Regions from separate parts of the Homo sapiens genome. Here region 2 is linked to region 1. Evidence: promoter capture Hi-C in 16 types of primary human blood cells and fetal thymus (Javierre and others, 2016). All regions are on one chromosome and are shown on one strand. Each heading gives the region's core, a stretch centred on a gene start or on the middle of the fragment in contact. The rest is flanking DNA. Distances are from core to core; before and after follow the strand shown.

Region 1 (7,755 bases), core at 2,034-4,533:
AAACCTTGTCTAAGTAGACTCTTTTCATCCTAATCCATCATAAATTATGCTGGTAGAGAAACTTCTTTATATGCTTTCAACTCTAAATTAAATACCTTGAGTAACAACAGTTACCATCATTGAATGCTACTATAGAGTACTTTACATCCACTATCTCATTTAATCCCCAAAATTCTCTAAAGTAGAAGCTCTGTTTTCCAGAGTAGAAAACTAAGATTCAGATTAATTAAACTCCAAGGAAACTAAACTAGTAAGTGACAGAGTTAGGACTCCAGCTCATATCTGACTATAAAGCTTACTACATTACTTACTGAGAAGCTACTTGGTCCAAGCCACTGTACTGATCATCAAGGGGAACAAACTTTCAATCTTATGCTCAAATCCATTACTCCTACTGCCTATAAAACAAGCTCAAACCAAAAAAACAAAAACAAACAAAAAACATCAATGGCACTAAAGACGCTCTATAATTCCCAGCATTTAAAATTGTTTTGTGGCCAAGTAAAATTATTTACTGTTCCCCTAACATAAAAACCTCACCAAACTCTGACTCACATAGTTCATCTCAGTCTAGAATAACTCTATCACCTCCCTTTGCAAAAACTTGATCTCTCCTTAAGGCCCAACCCAAGCCATATAACCTTCAAAAACCTTCCCTATTTAGGTTAATAATGACAGCCCCCTAATAGAGATTACTTAAAATCAGTGCAAGATGACAGGTATAATCCACTTAATAGTCTAAGATCTCTGAGCACAAAAACTACACTGTAACTTGACATTTCTTTCTCTCTTCCTTAGATAGACATACATAGGCAGTCACCCAACTCCCAGTCTTACGTCCTTTCCACTGTCTCACTGAGGCTATAAAAAGTGATTTCAAAACAAAGGATGGCACATGATTTATCATTTTGCTTATACACAGCTGGCTCCCTTTCCACCTGCAGGTGCCCCAAGTCTTTACTCCTCCCCTTCAGAGCACTATCCAAACACACCCTACCTATCATCAAAAGACCTAAGCTGCTTGAGACAATACAAGCCATCAGGAGTGAATTCCTTCACCAGTCCTCCTCTGTCACTTAGAAATATACTTTTATCTTCATCCTAACTTCAGTCCTTCCTGTCTCAGTGTGTCCCTGTGCTTTTCCCCAATTTCTCTACTATCTCCTTGATCTCATCCTCTCTTTAACGTTCAAGCTCTCACTCTAGTTAATTTGTTCCTTTCTCTTATCTTCAGTCTCTCCCTAGACTCTTTCCCCTCAAGCAACAAGCATGTTCATTTCTCCAATCATTTACTCCTATTTATTGAATTTACTATGTGCCAGGAACTGTTCTGTATACTAGGGTTACAGAAATTATCTCTGCCCCCACGGAGCTTATATTCCAGTGAGTGAGACTGAAAATAAACAAGAAATAATTGACAATTATGGCTTCTGAAAAAGATAAGCTGTATGAAGAAAATAAAAAGTGATTCAACTGAGGTGGAATTGCAGAGGAGAGAATGAGTGGTTGTTTTGAGGTCCTCACCAGGGAGGTTAACACTTAAGAAGAATTGTGTGAAAGCGAGGGGCAAAGCAATTTAAAAGAAAGAAAACAAAAAATGCAAACACCTGGGAGAACCACCTTGGTGTGTATTACGAAGAGATAAAAAAGACCTGTGACTGGAATGTAATAAGCCTGGCGGGGACAGTGGCACATAAATGAAACCTGAGTGGCAGGCAGGGACCAGATTTTATAGACCCATAGGGAAGGAGGGTGGATTTTATTCTACCTGCAACAGGAAGCCACTGGACAATCTTAAACAAGGAATGATGTGATCTGATCATACTGAAACCTCAAACATACAAAAATACTATTATCTTTTAGATTAACAAAGTGTTTTCCACAGTTAGAAATTACTGCTCTCTCTAACCTGTTAAAGCAAGAAAAATTCAATTTTAAAATACTGCCTCAACATCTGTATTTAATGCTGTATCAAATATACATTTGCTTTAAAGTTAAAATTAGAGGATACAGAATAAGTGTGGCTAACAAACTCAACAAACCACATTTACCTGTTGATTTCATCTAATGAGGTAAGTTTAGAAAGCACAATCGTCATTCTACCCCTTCCAGATGCTGAACTTCTAATCCAAAAATCAGACTCACCTCGACAAGCTTCTTCAAAATCTTGGGTAATGTCCACCCAGTTTGTATTGCTTTTCTCCATTTTTTCTGGCATACTGAGCTCCCATCCTGAATCGTCATCATCTACAGAAGCTTTCATAACCATTATGCCTGTAAAATTAATACTGATGTAAGAGAGAGGATGTAGCTTTCAGGGCAAGAGTATTTGCAGAAATGGGTGTTTGTTTCAGCATAGGATGAAGTCTTAACTAAACTCTTTAAAGCAGAACTCTTCTGAGTCTAAGGACAGTACTGCAAAGAATAACCTTAATGCAATCAAATCGCACGTCAATTAACACTCCTGCTGCTTACTATTAGCCCACCACCTACCAGGGCCCATAAACATTTTGCCTTCCTACTGTTTAAGAAGAAAAATCACAAACCATCTCACCTCTGGCCCGAAAAGAACAACTCCAGAGCTTCCAACTTTCAATAATAGCCACAAAAGACCAAGGCACTATTCAGGGTCCCCTCTCGCAGCCCAGGACCCCATGCGGCAGCTACCGAAGTCAATCAAGGTAGCCCTTCATCTGGCCAGAGCTCGCTGGGACCTCTCCCGGGCCAGAGCCGGCCCGGACCCAGGCAGAACCTCGCCGGGAGCAATGAGGAGCCGGCAGGCACCGCAGGGTCCCGCCGGCCGGGCCTAGGGCCGAGGCACACCTGAGGCGGGCACACGCTTCCCTTCCGCCCTGCCCGGGTCAGCCCAGCCCAGCCCCGGTCCCACTGGGCGCATAAGCAAGGACAGAGCTGTCGCCGCGCGGGAGGGCGGGCACGTCCGGCGCCGGGTCGTCGCCTCGGCAACACCGGGCAAGAGTGGGGCCTCGGCCGACAGCGGGCACTGGGGAGCCCGCCGCTCCTACCTGACGCGCAGCGGGAGGGCCGGGGCCGCAGGGTGACCTGGGGTCCCCAGGATCTGCCACACGCGCGGGGGGCTGCGGCTCTCGGACACACGAGCGAGAGGGTTTCAATGGCTACGCAGGGGCGGTCCCTACCTACTTCTCCCGTGGTCACCCGCGCCGCCACGCACTGTCCGGACCACGGAAATAACGACGCCGCCTCGGCCGCCGCCGCCCCCTCCCCTCTCAGCCCAGCCCGACCGGCAGCGTGCACGCATGCGTATGCCCGGGACGCGCGACCCCGCCCCCTCTCCCTTACTCCCGGGGACTTCGCGCTCCCCGGCCACACCCCCTCCCTCGCCACCGCCTCCGTTCGGCCGATGGCGGCCGCCTTCTCTTCTCGCGAGATTAGAGACGATCGCGAGACCGGAAGTTATCTTTTTTCACCCTCTGTCGGAGTCCTGGGTAGTGGGCGGTTCCCGGAAAGAGGCGGAGCCCGGAGTCTCAGAGCCCGCCCCGTCTGCGCTGCCCTCTGGGAATTTCTTAGAAAGGTGACGCGAAGGCGGAAGGAAACCGTGGAGGTTTGCGTAGACCTTAGTGGTTGCGAGCACGAACGAGCAGCCAAGCTCCGAGAGCAACAGCGTGCTACTGCTGCCTGACAACGGATTTATGTTTCCTATACAGCGCCTGGGAGTTTCGTGAGGAAACATAGATTCAAAATATCTGCAAAGTCAAGCCAGACATTTAATTTCAGATTCTTATATGTTTTAGATTTTTTTAATTTATTAATAAAATGATCAGTTTTTAAATGGGGTTACATAAATAGACGGGCGCAGGTAAGAAGCACATCTTTATCACCACCTGTTCTTTAGGATGGCCCAAAATTAAAAGATGGAAAAGATAATACCAAATGTTGGCAAGGATGCAGAGCAACTGGACCTCTGTTATGTTGGTGGTGGTAATGCAAAATGGTACAACCACTTTGGAAAACTTAACAATCTCTCCTTATAATCATATACTTATCATTCGATCCAGTAATCTACGAATTTACTTAGGAACAAAAACATATTCATACAAAGGCTTGTACGTTAATGTTCATACCAGCTTTGTTTTGCTTTGTTTTTGTTTTTGTTTGAGACAGAGTGTCACTCTTGTCGCCCCTGCTAGAGTGCAGTGACCTGATCTCGGCTCATTGCAACCTCTGCCTTTCAGGTTCAAGCAATTCTCGTGCCTCAGTCTCCCGAGTAGCTGGGATTACAGGCGCCTGCCCCCACACCAGGCTGTTTTTTGTATTTTTAGTAGAGATGGGGTTTCACCATGTTGGTCAGGCTGATCTCAAACTCCTGACCTCGTGATCTGCCCACCTCAGCCTCCCAGAGTGCTGGGATTACAGGTATGAGCCACCGTGCCTGGCCCAGCTTTGTTTTTAATCATCAAAAACTACAGACAACCCAAATGTCCATCAACTGTTGAATAAAAACAATTTGTGGCATATCCATACAATGTAATGAATGTAATTATCAATAAACAGGGATAAACTACTTGACATACAACATGAATGAATTTCAAAAATATATTGAGTAAAAGAAATCAGGCTGAGCTTGGTAGCTGGTAGCTCATGCGTGTAATCCCAACACTTTGGGAGGCTGGCAGTGGAGAGGTCGGGTTGGAGACTAGCCTGACCAATATGGTGAAATCCTGTCTCTACTAAAAATACAAAAAAATTAGCCAGGCATGGTGGCGTGCGCCTGTAATCCCAGCCACTTGGGAGGCTGAGACAGGGGAATCCCTTGAACTCAGGAGGCAGAGGTTGCTGTGACCCGAGATGGTGCCATTGCACTCCAACCTGGGCGACAGAGTAAGAAATCAAATGCAAGAGTATGATTCCCCAAGTGAGACCCCAGGCTCTTAAAAGACATCTATAGTGACAGAAGACAGATTAGTGGCTGCTCAGGGCTCAAGAAGAGACTAAGTTGGATAGAGCTTGATTTGAAGTGATGTAAATATTCTGTTTTCGATTAAGGTAGTGCCTGTGTGGGTGAATACATTTGTAAAATTTCACTGAAGTATATACTTACAATGTGTACATTTTATTGTTTGTAAACCGAACTTCACAAAAATTGGTTTAAAAAATTTTTAAATGGCCGGGCGTGGTGGCTCACGCCTGTAATCCCAGTCCTCTGGGAGGCTGAGACGGGTGGATCACATGAGGTCAGGAGTTCAAGACCAGCCTGGTCAACTTGGCGAAACCCCATCTCTACTAAAAATACAAAAATTAGCCGGGCGTGATGGCGTGCACCTGTACTCCCAGCTACTCAGGAGACTGAGGCAAGAGAATCGCTTGAACCTGGGAGGTGTAGGTTGCAGTGAGCCGAGATCATGCCACTGCACTCCAGCCTGGGCAACAGAGCAAGACTGTCTCAAAAAACTTTAAAAATTAAGAATGCATATCTCTCTTACAGAATAATTTCCCAAAGGCAGAAGTTTTGCCTGTTTTGATCAAAGCTGTGTCGCCAGGACTTAGGGAAGTGGTTGGCCTATAGTAGGTACTCACTAAATACATTTGAGGATGAGAATGTAGAAAAGAGTTACAATAAAGTAGAAACATATATGCTAGTTTTCCAAAACTGTTTAATGATCTCTGCAGGACCATGAGATATCTAGAAAAGGATGAGCTGACTGCATCTGAGTTGTTCAGGATCATGTATAGGTTGTGACAAAAACTGATAGAGGAAAAAACACTCTTTTTTTGTAAATAAGACTGCTTCAGAACTTATATATATTTCAAATATACATATATATCTCAAACACAAATATACACATATATATTTTAAATACACAAATATACACACATATATATTTCAAATACACATTTATAACCAGAACACGGCAGCCAAGTGAAACCATTTTATTTACTAAAACTATAATTTATTTGAAATCCATATTTGATTTCTCCTAACCTCTCTGATTTAAAAACCATTTTCCCTGAGAAACCTTTAACTTCTGATGACATCCAATATTCGTTCTAATGTTGAAAAAGCAACGGGCATTTTAGACATAGACTATGTGATGAATGGATGCAAAGGAACTGATTGACAAATAATGATCTACCCAAACAACATAAGAGTAGATGGCCATTTTTGGAGAGATGGAAATTAATTCCTACAAGTCTAAATCTTGTTGTTGCTAGTAGATAAAATCCTAACTATTACGTGATTCAACACTTGTGTTGAGATGAACTTTAGCTCAATGGCATCATATTGTACTGACACTGGAACCCAGTGTCACATGAGTTTGATAAGAGCAGAGCTGCAAGTCAAAGTGGATTTTACATCAGTTTTACCATTACATAAAATAAATTAAGGAGGACCTACAGGCTGCTCAGAGAAATATTTTCAGAAAAGGAAGCAGAAAGAGTTAACATATCCTACTGTATCATGTGGCAGAAAGAAACATGGCACTGTTTTTGTGAGTTTTTAAATTAAATATGGATAATATCAAAATATCAGTTTAGTTCGTCCTACTATATTTATTTATGTATTTTTGAGACAGGGTCTCCCTCTCTCACCCAGGCTGGAGTGCAGTGGCACAATCTCAGCTCACTGCATCCTCGACCCCGGGCTCAAGTGATCCTCCCACCTCAGCCTTCAAACTACTTAGGACTACAGGTGCATGCCACCACACCTGGCTAATTTTTTGTATTTTTGGTAGACATGGGGTTTTGCCATGTTGCCCAGGCTAGTCTCAAACTCCTGAGCTCCGGCGATCCACCCACCTCAGCAGGTGAATGGCGTGGACCTGGAGGGCGGAGCTTGCAGTGAGCCAAGATCACGCCACTGCACTCCAGCGTGAGTGACAAGAGTGAGACTCCGTCTCAAAAAAAAAGAAAAGAAAAGAAACTCCTCTCATCTCTCTAACAGTTTGAGTGACTTATCGGTAAAGGTGTCTGTGCAACTCCCCTTATCTTACGCAGCTGTGGGTATGTCTCTAGACAAGCACAAAGAGCTGCTTCTCTTGTTTGTATAACTGTGGGTTTGTTTTAGGTAAGATCCCCTCCTTCCTGTGCAGGCTCCCAACGTGTATATGCCTGAAAAGAGGAGGAAACTTTTTCCTGGGAGCTTGCTATTAATACAAAGAACAAAGGGCCTCTGTGCTGGACCCTGTCTGCTTCTCTGTCTGCAGGTGCAGCCTGAGATTTTTTTCCTAGGTTATTTTATTTTTGCCTGTTGCTGTGACTTTTCAGGCAGGCCACTTCTGCAGTCTGAATTTTCCCCAAATAAGTCTTCCTTTCCTTCTCCCGCATTAGTACTATTAACTACTAGTCCTATTGTTTAATAACAACACTTATGTAACAGAAAATTAAATAATGCAGAATATGTAATTTCAAATAAACCTCTATTAAAATAACACATCATATGTCAGAATTACCTATGGACCTATGGAGGCTTTAAGAAATCTTTTTTTTTTTTTTTTTTTTTTGAGACGGAGTCTCGCTCTGTCGCCCAGGCTGGAGTGCAGTGGCAGGATCTCCGCTCACAGCAAGCTCCGCCTCCCAGGTTCACACCATTCTCCTGCCTCAGCCTCCCGAGTAGCTGGGACTACAGGCGCCCGCCACCACGCCAGGCCAATTTCTTTGTATTTTTTTGTAGAGACGGTGTTTCACCGTGCTAGCCAGGATGGTCTCGATCTCCTGACCTCGTGATCCGCCTGCCTCCGCCTCCCAAAGTGCTGGGATTACAGGCGTGAGGCCCCGCAC
Region 2 (7,755 bases), core at 2,853-5,352, about 29 Mb before region 1:
GGCACATGTCATTGGGACCTCCTAGGCCTGTGCCACGAAAAAGAAAAAAGAATGTAAAAATATGAAGATGGGCCAGGCGTGGTGGCTCACGCCTGTAATCCCAGCATTTTGGGAGGCCAAGGTAGGCAGATCACAAGGTCAGGAGTTCAAGACCAGCCTGGCCAACACAGTGAAACCCCCGTCTCTTCTAAAAATACAAAAATTAGCCGGGCATGGTGGCGCACACCTGCAGTCTCAGCTACTTGGGAGGCTGAGGCAGGAGAATCATTTGAACCTGGGAGGTGGAGGTCGTAGTGAACTGAGATGACGCCACTGCGCTCCAGCCTGGGTGACAGAGCAAGACTACATCTCGGACAGGAAAAAAAAAAAAAAAGGGGCGGGGGGCGCTGGGCGCGGTGGCTCACACCTGTCATCCTAGCACTCTGGGAGGCCGGGGCAGGCAGATCACCTGCGGTCGGGAGTTCAAGACAAGCCTGACCAACAAGGAGAAACCCCATCTCTACTAAAAATACAAATTTAGCCGGATGTGGTGGCGCATGCCTGCAATTTCAGCTACTCGGGAGGTTGAGGTGGAAGAATCGCTAGAACCTGGGAGGCAGAGGTTGCAGTGAGCCGAGATCATGCCATTGCACTCCAGCCTGGGCAACAAGAGCAAAACTCCCCGTCTCAGAAAAAAAAAAAAAAAAATGAAGATGATGGCTGCCCTGACACAAGGGTATTTCTACATTGTTTTATGAGCAGCCTGACAACTTACAGCACCTATCAGCCCCAGTTCAAGAATCAAAGAAACATGTTAAGTTTTATTTGTATTTGTCTTATTTTTTTGTAGAGACAGGGTCTTGGTTTATTGCCCAGGCTGGTTTTGAACTTGTGGCTTCAAGCAATCCTCCCACCTCAGCCTCCCAAAGTATTGGGATTACAGGTGTGAGTCACTATGCCCAGCCACGTTTTAATGGCACTGTAATTGCCAAGAACAAAGATGATCCAGCACTTTGGGAGGTTGAGATGTGAGGATCACTTGAGGCCAGGAGTTCGAGACCAGCCAAGGCAACACAGCAAGACCCTATCTCTACAAAAACAAAAAAAAAATTAGCTGAGCATGATGGATCATGCCTACAGTCCTAGCTACTCAGAAGGCTGGGCAGGGGAGGATCGCTTAAGCCTAGAAGCTCCAGGTCACCGTGAGCTATGATCACACCACTGCACTAAAGCCTGAATGATAGAGTGTGACTCTGTCTCTTAAAAAGAAAAAATAAAAAATTGATCAAAATTTTTGCTACTTAATGCAAGGAGGGAGGTATGTGCCTTTACTCACTGGACTTGGGCCTGGAAGTGTGTATGCTGGAACTACTAGAGGCCACAGTGTAGAACTTGAGAATGATACAAAGCCAAACACAGAGGTGAGAGAAAGTCCTGAGCATATTATTTAAGCTCTTGGGTTTTTAATTATATAGGCCAATACATCCCATTTAGAATCAGTTTTAATTATATTTTGTTACCTGCACCCAAGAGTCCTGATAGTTTCTTTTCTCTGTGAGGCCCTTATCCATCCTTTCCCCTTTCCACAATTGTCCCTGCCTCCTCTATGCTTTCTGTGATCTGTTTTTGTACTATTATTGTATGCACCATAGTATAGCCTACATCACTGGTAAATGTCTGTACTATATACAATATACTAAAGTGGGGCTCCATTTGATTTATGTTTATGACCGTCACAGCATTTTTCAGTAGTAGCTCTGCATGATTTGCACTGTATTACTGAGTCTCCCTGACCACTGGATGGTAAGCTACACTCCATGAGGGAAGGGACCATGTCTATTCCTGGTCACAACTGATCCCTAGCATCTAGCACAGTACCTGGCGCATGTTAACTGCTTAACAGATACGTGTTAAATGAGTGAATAAATGAAAATTAGAAATCAATATGAATGGAAAAACTGATCATCCTAAAAGACAGATGCCTGAGCAGCCAATAAAACACACAGCTACCACATTTTCAAACTTCGACCAGGATCTCTGAGCTATGCTGGATATTCTGAAAGCCTTGGCGGGACAGGGGATCAGAAACTAAAGCAGTAACAAAAACAAATGGTGCCCCACCGCAGCTTCCTTGGCCTTGAATTCTTTCTCCCTCTGCAGGCGGTACTGTTCAATTTCAGCCTGAGCTTCTTCTTTGGCCTGCTTCAGCCTCCGGTTCTTTCCTGTTTTCAAAGGAGAGAGCTATATCAGGAAGTGGTTAAAAGTAGAAAAGCAAGCAGAGACAAGATGGTATATTATAACAATAAGCCAAGAATAAATTATGACACAGTCCGAAGAGATGTGCATGGGAAAGAGGGAATTCAGAGCTAACAAACAGTACAGGTTCCTCCCTCCTATAGGCTGTACTTAACTAGGAAGTGACAAGACAAAAATGAATACCTTCTGTAACTACAGCCCATTAAAAAGATGGAAAAAAATTGTAGAATGTGTCAGAATATTCTCTCAATCTCAACTATTAAGAACCAACATAAAATGAGTAACATTAACCATCTAGGGAACTCTTCTCCAGAAGTAAACACCTTAAGTATGCTGCTGATTAAAGGTGCAACCCTACTCAGATGCTTAGCAAGAAGGCTAATAAGCTCGCAAGGGACAGCAACATATAATGTAACTAATGAACCAACTATATAATGTAACACTGGAAACTAAAAGCAGTCCCTGTCACAAGGAAGTAAGGACAGTGGTGACTGAGAAGGAATGCTGAATGAGGAGTACTGGACAGTAAGACTGCACAAGTGGCTGAGAGAAGAGGAGACACAGGTATTTTGGTTTCTAGAAGTGAGTGGCTTAACATACAGCTGGAAAAAATCTCTAGGTTTGGTCAGAGTCTACATGAAAACAGACCACAAGGACAGCCAACATATAATCTCTGCTTTGAGTCTCCGCTCACCAATAAAAAAAAAAAAAGAGAGGTTCTAGACCATCAACCTATTTATTTGAGAGCAAAAGACATCCTGCATCTAAAATTAAGCTTTGTTATACAACACTGTACATCATTGTATACCAACTGTCTAGAGTCCACGCGAATGAGTGAAAATGAACTTAACCTTCCACATCCTGATTCAGAACAGAACTTTGGACCTGTAATGAAATGACCCCATGACATCAACATTCCCTGATGCTAGTCTGAAACAATTAACAGGTCTCTCTCTCAAAACTCCAAGAACTATTTCTGCAAGTCCACATTCACTCCAGTATTATTTCTGGCCTACTACTGTCTGCTTCGGCCACCTGTACCCCAATCCTTCACATGCTATCTTCCCATCAGCTATAATGGGCTGTATTTCAAAGCTAAAGATACTTTCGAAACCAACAATCTATAAATAACACTCATGGCCTGAACATTATGCAGTAGCTCCGCATGATTTCACAAGACATCACCTCCCAACTCCCATGGCTCCCTGCATTTATAACTCAGGATAATACCATTTACTGCCTTTGGCAAACATCTTCAACATTCAATTTTGACAGGGGCCTCTAAAAATCAAAAATATTTAAACAGAAAATCGTATTTCTCTTAAATCTTGTTCTTCTTGGGCCTTACATATGGGAGCCAGTGTTTTGTTTCACTCCAATGAAATATGCCATTAACACAAACTTTTTTAAAATTTTAAGGTCCACGCCGGGCGCGCTGGCTCACGCCTGTAATCCCAGCACTTTGAGAGGCCAAGGTGAGCAGATCACAAGGTCAGGAGTTCGAGACCAACCTGGCCACTATGGTGAAACCCTGTCTCTACTAAAAACACAAAAACTAGCCGGGCATGGTGGCAGGCACCTGTAGTCCCAGCTACTCGGGCGGCTGAGGCAGAAGAATCGCTTGAACCTGGGAGGCAGAGATTGTAGTGAGCCGAGATCACGCCACTGCCCTCCTGCCTGGGGGCGACAGAGCGAGAATCCATCTCAAAAAAATAAATAAACAAAATATATAAAATAAAATAAAAAATAATAAAAAAAATTTAAGGTCCAACTCAATGATTTCATTAAAAAAACTGGATGGGATCATTTTATATACTGCCTCTTCCCAACTCTTAACTGGGCAAATCAACCATAATTATAAATCAAGAAAGGCAAATTTTCAAACTGCAGTTCTTCTGACTACCTCTCTGTTCCTAACTATTAACAATTCTGAGACAGGCAAGGCGCAGTCGCTCATATCTGTAATCCCAGCACTTTGGGAGGCCGAGAGTTTGAGAAGAACCCGGCCGACATAGTAAAACACTGTCTCTACTAAAAATACAAAAATTTATTTTTTTATTTATGTATTAATTTATATGTTTTTGTATTTTTAGTAGAGATGGGCATGGTGGTAGGCACCTGTAATCCCAGCTACTTGGGAGCCTGAGGCACAAAATCTCGAACTCTGGAGGTGGAGGATGCAGTGAGCCAAGATGGTGCCACTGCACTCTAGCCTGAGTGACAGAGTGAGACTCTGTCTCAAAAAAAAAAAAAAAAATCTGAGAAGTATGTAAGCCATAAACTAATACTTTGGTTTGTTTTTTGTTTTTTTTTTTTTTTGAGACGGCGTCTCCCTCTGTCCCCAAGGCTGGAGTGCTGTGGGACAGATCTCCGCTCACTGCAACCTCTGCCTCCTGGGTTCAAGCGTTTCTCCTGTCTCAGCCTCCCAAGTAGCTGGGACTACACGCGCACACCACCACGCCCAGCTAACTTTTGTATTTTTAGTAGACACGGAGTTTCTCCATATTGCCCAGGCTGGTCTCAAACTCTTGATCTCAGGTGATCCACCCACCTCAGCCTCCCAAAGTGCTGGGATTACAGGCGTGAGCCACCACGCCCAGCCAAATTAATACTTTTTAAAACCAATTCACAGCTACCTGACATATACAAAACCCTGCACCAGGCTTGACAGGATAAAGGTATAAAACATAAATCCTACCTGGCTAGGGCACTCAGAATTATTCTTACCTATTCCAAGCATTTTTTCCTGCACTTCCCCAATCTATTCTCCTATCCCTCCCGACAGATACAACTTCTGTTACTGATGAGCCATCAGAACACAAACTGTGAGAAGTCATTCTGGAAATACACTATCAAGGGCATGACTGGAAATATTCTGGGAAGAACAAAGAACTTTCCAGTCACCGGAGCAAGAACAAAAGGCTTCTTCTCATTCCCAACACCCTCAAAGAAAGCTTTCCAAGTACCACACAACCCCTAACTGCACAAGTAGAGGAGACATGCTTGAAATCTAGTTGGATGTCAGATAGAATAACTCCTATACTAGGAGAAACACCAAGGAATTACTAAGATCAGTATCTTCGCCTTGCATGGAAAAAGAGGCTTCTGAGTCCCAACTATGTTGCTTCCCAGGGTATGGATAAATCATTTCTCTCTGAGCCTCATTTTTACTATCTGTAAAATAGGGATAGAAGCATCTTTCTCACCAGACGGGAAACTGGATACATAAAGTTAAATGAGACATAGTTTCTGTTCTCCAGAAGCTTAGTCTAGTGACTGAGCCATATAAACAAACAGGTTATTGCACGGCAGTGGCAGAAATCAGCACTTGGGAGGGACTCCAAGCCTAGTCCGGGGGACAAGCATGAGTCAGGAAAGGCTTCCCGGGAAGAAGTGTTTCCTAAATTGAGGTCTGATGGAAGACTAAGGGTCAGAGAACAAAGGGGAGGAGAATTGGAAAAGGCTTCTCACGTCAGAAGAAACAGCGTGTGCAAAAACCTGCAGGTGAAAGACATCATGCTGCTTCTGAGGGACCACAACGATTCAGTATAGCTGGAGGAAAGCACCAGGCCTGACCCACAAGAGCCTCCCCAACTTCATTAAGGAATTTGAGCTTTCTTCTGCAGGAACTAAACGTCTGACTACAAAGGCGGTAGGGAAATCATATCTGCACTTATTTATTTATTTTGTTCCTTACCAGCAGGAAGTCACATATTTGCATTTTAGAAGGATGACTGATTGCAGAGAGGAGAATGGATTGACTGGAGGGGACCAGAACGGGTTCTTCCACTCCCCAGTCTAGATTAAACTCACCTGTTAAATTCTTTAGCAACCTTACATTTCTCCACTCCAGCCCTCATCTCTCCTGCAATTAATTAACTGACCCAATACCTGCTTCCTTCACTGCGACACTGAATGCCACGTTAGGGGAGACAACTGATGCACTGGGCACTGCGCTTGCCACATATTAGACAGAAACACACACACACACACACACACACACACACTGCGCTTGCCACATGTTAGAAACACACACACACTGCGCTTGCCACATATCAGAAACACACACACGCACACACGCCAACGATTTAGACAACTACAGTACCTTTAGAGAAACTGGTGTCCTGGACTAAGACGCTGGTAGTAGACATGGGGGAAAAAGTGAAAGATACGCAAGCCTTGGCGACTGACTAAATGAGGGAGGGAGAAGAGGCAAGCAGGACTCCAGGTTTCTAGACCAAGCAACTGTGTGGATGCTGGCTCCCTTCACCGAGACTGACCACCCCAGAGCGGTTAAGTGGGAGAGAAGAAGAACAAAGAGCTCCGTTTGGAGAGCCCATTTCACATGCCTCCAGGCCCCAAGGACGGTAACCCATTATTGTTTCCACGCCCAATTTACCATCTCACATCGTGGCTTCCAGGCGATCCGCAAGCCTTCCAGAGCCTCAGCTCCTCAAAGCTTCGAAACACACAACCTTCCGCGACTATACGCACGCCCGCACCCCGCAGTTTTTCGGGCCTAATCTACCCACCACCTGAGGCCCAGCGGTCTTTCTTCGACTCGCGCCACGCCGGGCAGCCCCACCCTGAAACTCACTTTTGCGGGCCTCGGACACCTTCTCGGCTGCCCGCTTCTCGGCCTGCAGCAGCTGCTGAATCCCCTGAGACTGACTAGCCATGGCGGCAGCGATTCTGAGAGCAAGGCAAGCGGCCTAAGGCACCTCGAAGGCCCCTTGGGTCAGCTGACACAGCCGCCCACAATCTGCGCTTGCTCCTTGCGCCTGCGCTTCGCCCCCGTTGTCACGTGACCGCACAGCGTAGCATCAGCTGACCGCTCTTGAACTTCTGTGATTCGGCAGAAATGGGGCGGGGCGGGGCTGAGGAGAAAGGAGCGGAGCTCCTCGACTGCGCCTGTGCAGTCTACTGCGCAGTACTGCCCTCTACTCCTCTGTCCGCTCCCTGGCCTCTTTTAATGGCTACCCTGTCGCTGGTTCACTCTGTAGCCGCCCTGCCACGTATAGTGTCTGTTTGCAGTATGCTCAACGTCAAGAGAGGAGGGGCCAAGTCAAATCACTTTCCTCCTACTCTCCACACTGCTCTACTCACTCCCTTTCTGGGACTTTCTTTGGCACTCAAAATTTTATCGGGGTAGTTCAGGAAGATTCTTGCCAGTTCCGGGGATAGAGTCTTGGGTTGCCAGTTAGGAGACTCGGGATCAAGTCTGCCGCTAACCTGTGTGATTTTGGACAGGTCGCTATCCTTTTCTGAACCCGAGTTCAGGAATGGACTGGACTGTTTCCCATAAATATTTGATGAAAGCCTGCTGTGATCCTAGTCCACTGTTGATATTGAGGACATAGCAGAGAGCAGGGCAAACAAGGTCCCGGCGGAGCTCACAGTTTATGGACACAGACAGATTAATTAAAATAAATAGACAATTACAAACTGTGATAAAGTCATGAAGGAAAAATGCAGGGTGCCGTAAGAAGGAACCTTTAGTAAGGGGAGAGGAATATGGAG

What was found. Contacts are between HindIII fragments. The CHiCAGO score rates a contact against its expected background, and 5 or more counts as called.
Region 2: a contact is called between a fragment that was not itself captured here and the fragment with the promoter of NAA35 in region 1, in 1 of 17 cell types (fetal thymus). The highest score is 5.9, in fetal thymus.

What each region holds. Positions count from the first base shown.
Region 1 is chr9:85,936,674-85,944,428 of GRCh38, reverse strand. NAA35 (N-alpha-acetyltransferase 35, NatC auxiliary subunit) reads right to left here and starts at 3,283. Exons shown (of 23, transcript NM_024635.4): 1 at 3,156-3,283; 2 at 2,146-2,274. The coding sequence starts at 2,269. It also overlaps the pseudogene LOC100130049. RefSeq lists a silencer at 2,700-3,379. The HindIII fragment of the contact is 5,629 bases long and covers 2,259-7,755 here.
Region 2 is chr9:114,586,998-114,594,752 of GRCh38, reverse strand. It overlaps ATP6V1G1 (ATPase H+ transporting V1 subunit G1), which reads right to left and starts at 6,984. Exons shown (of 3, transcript NM_004888.4): 1 at 6,833-6,984; 2 at 2,101-2,201. The coding sequence starts at 6,914. RefSeq lists enhancers at 6,549-7,058, 7,169-7,248, 6,887-7,705, 7,706-7,755. The HindIII fragment of the contact is 2,179 bases long and covers 3,013-5,191 here.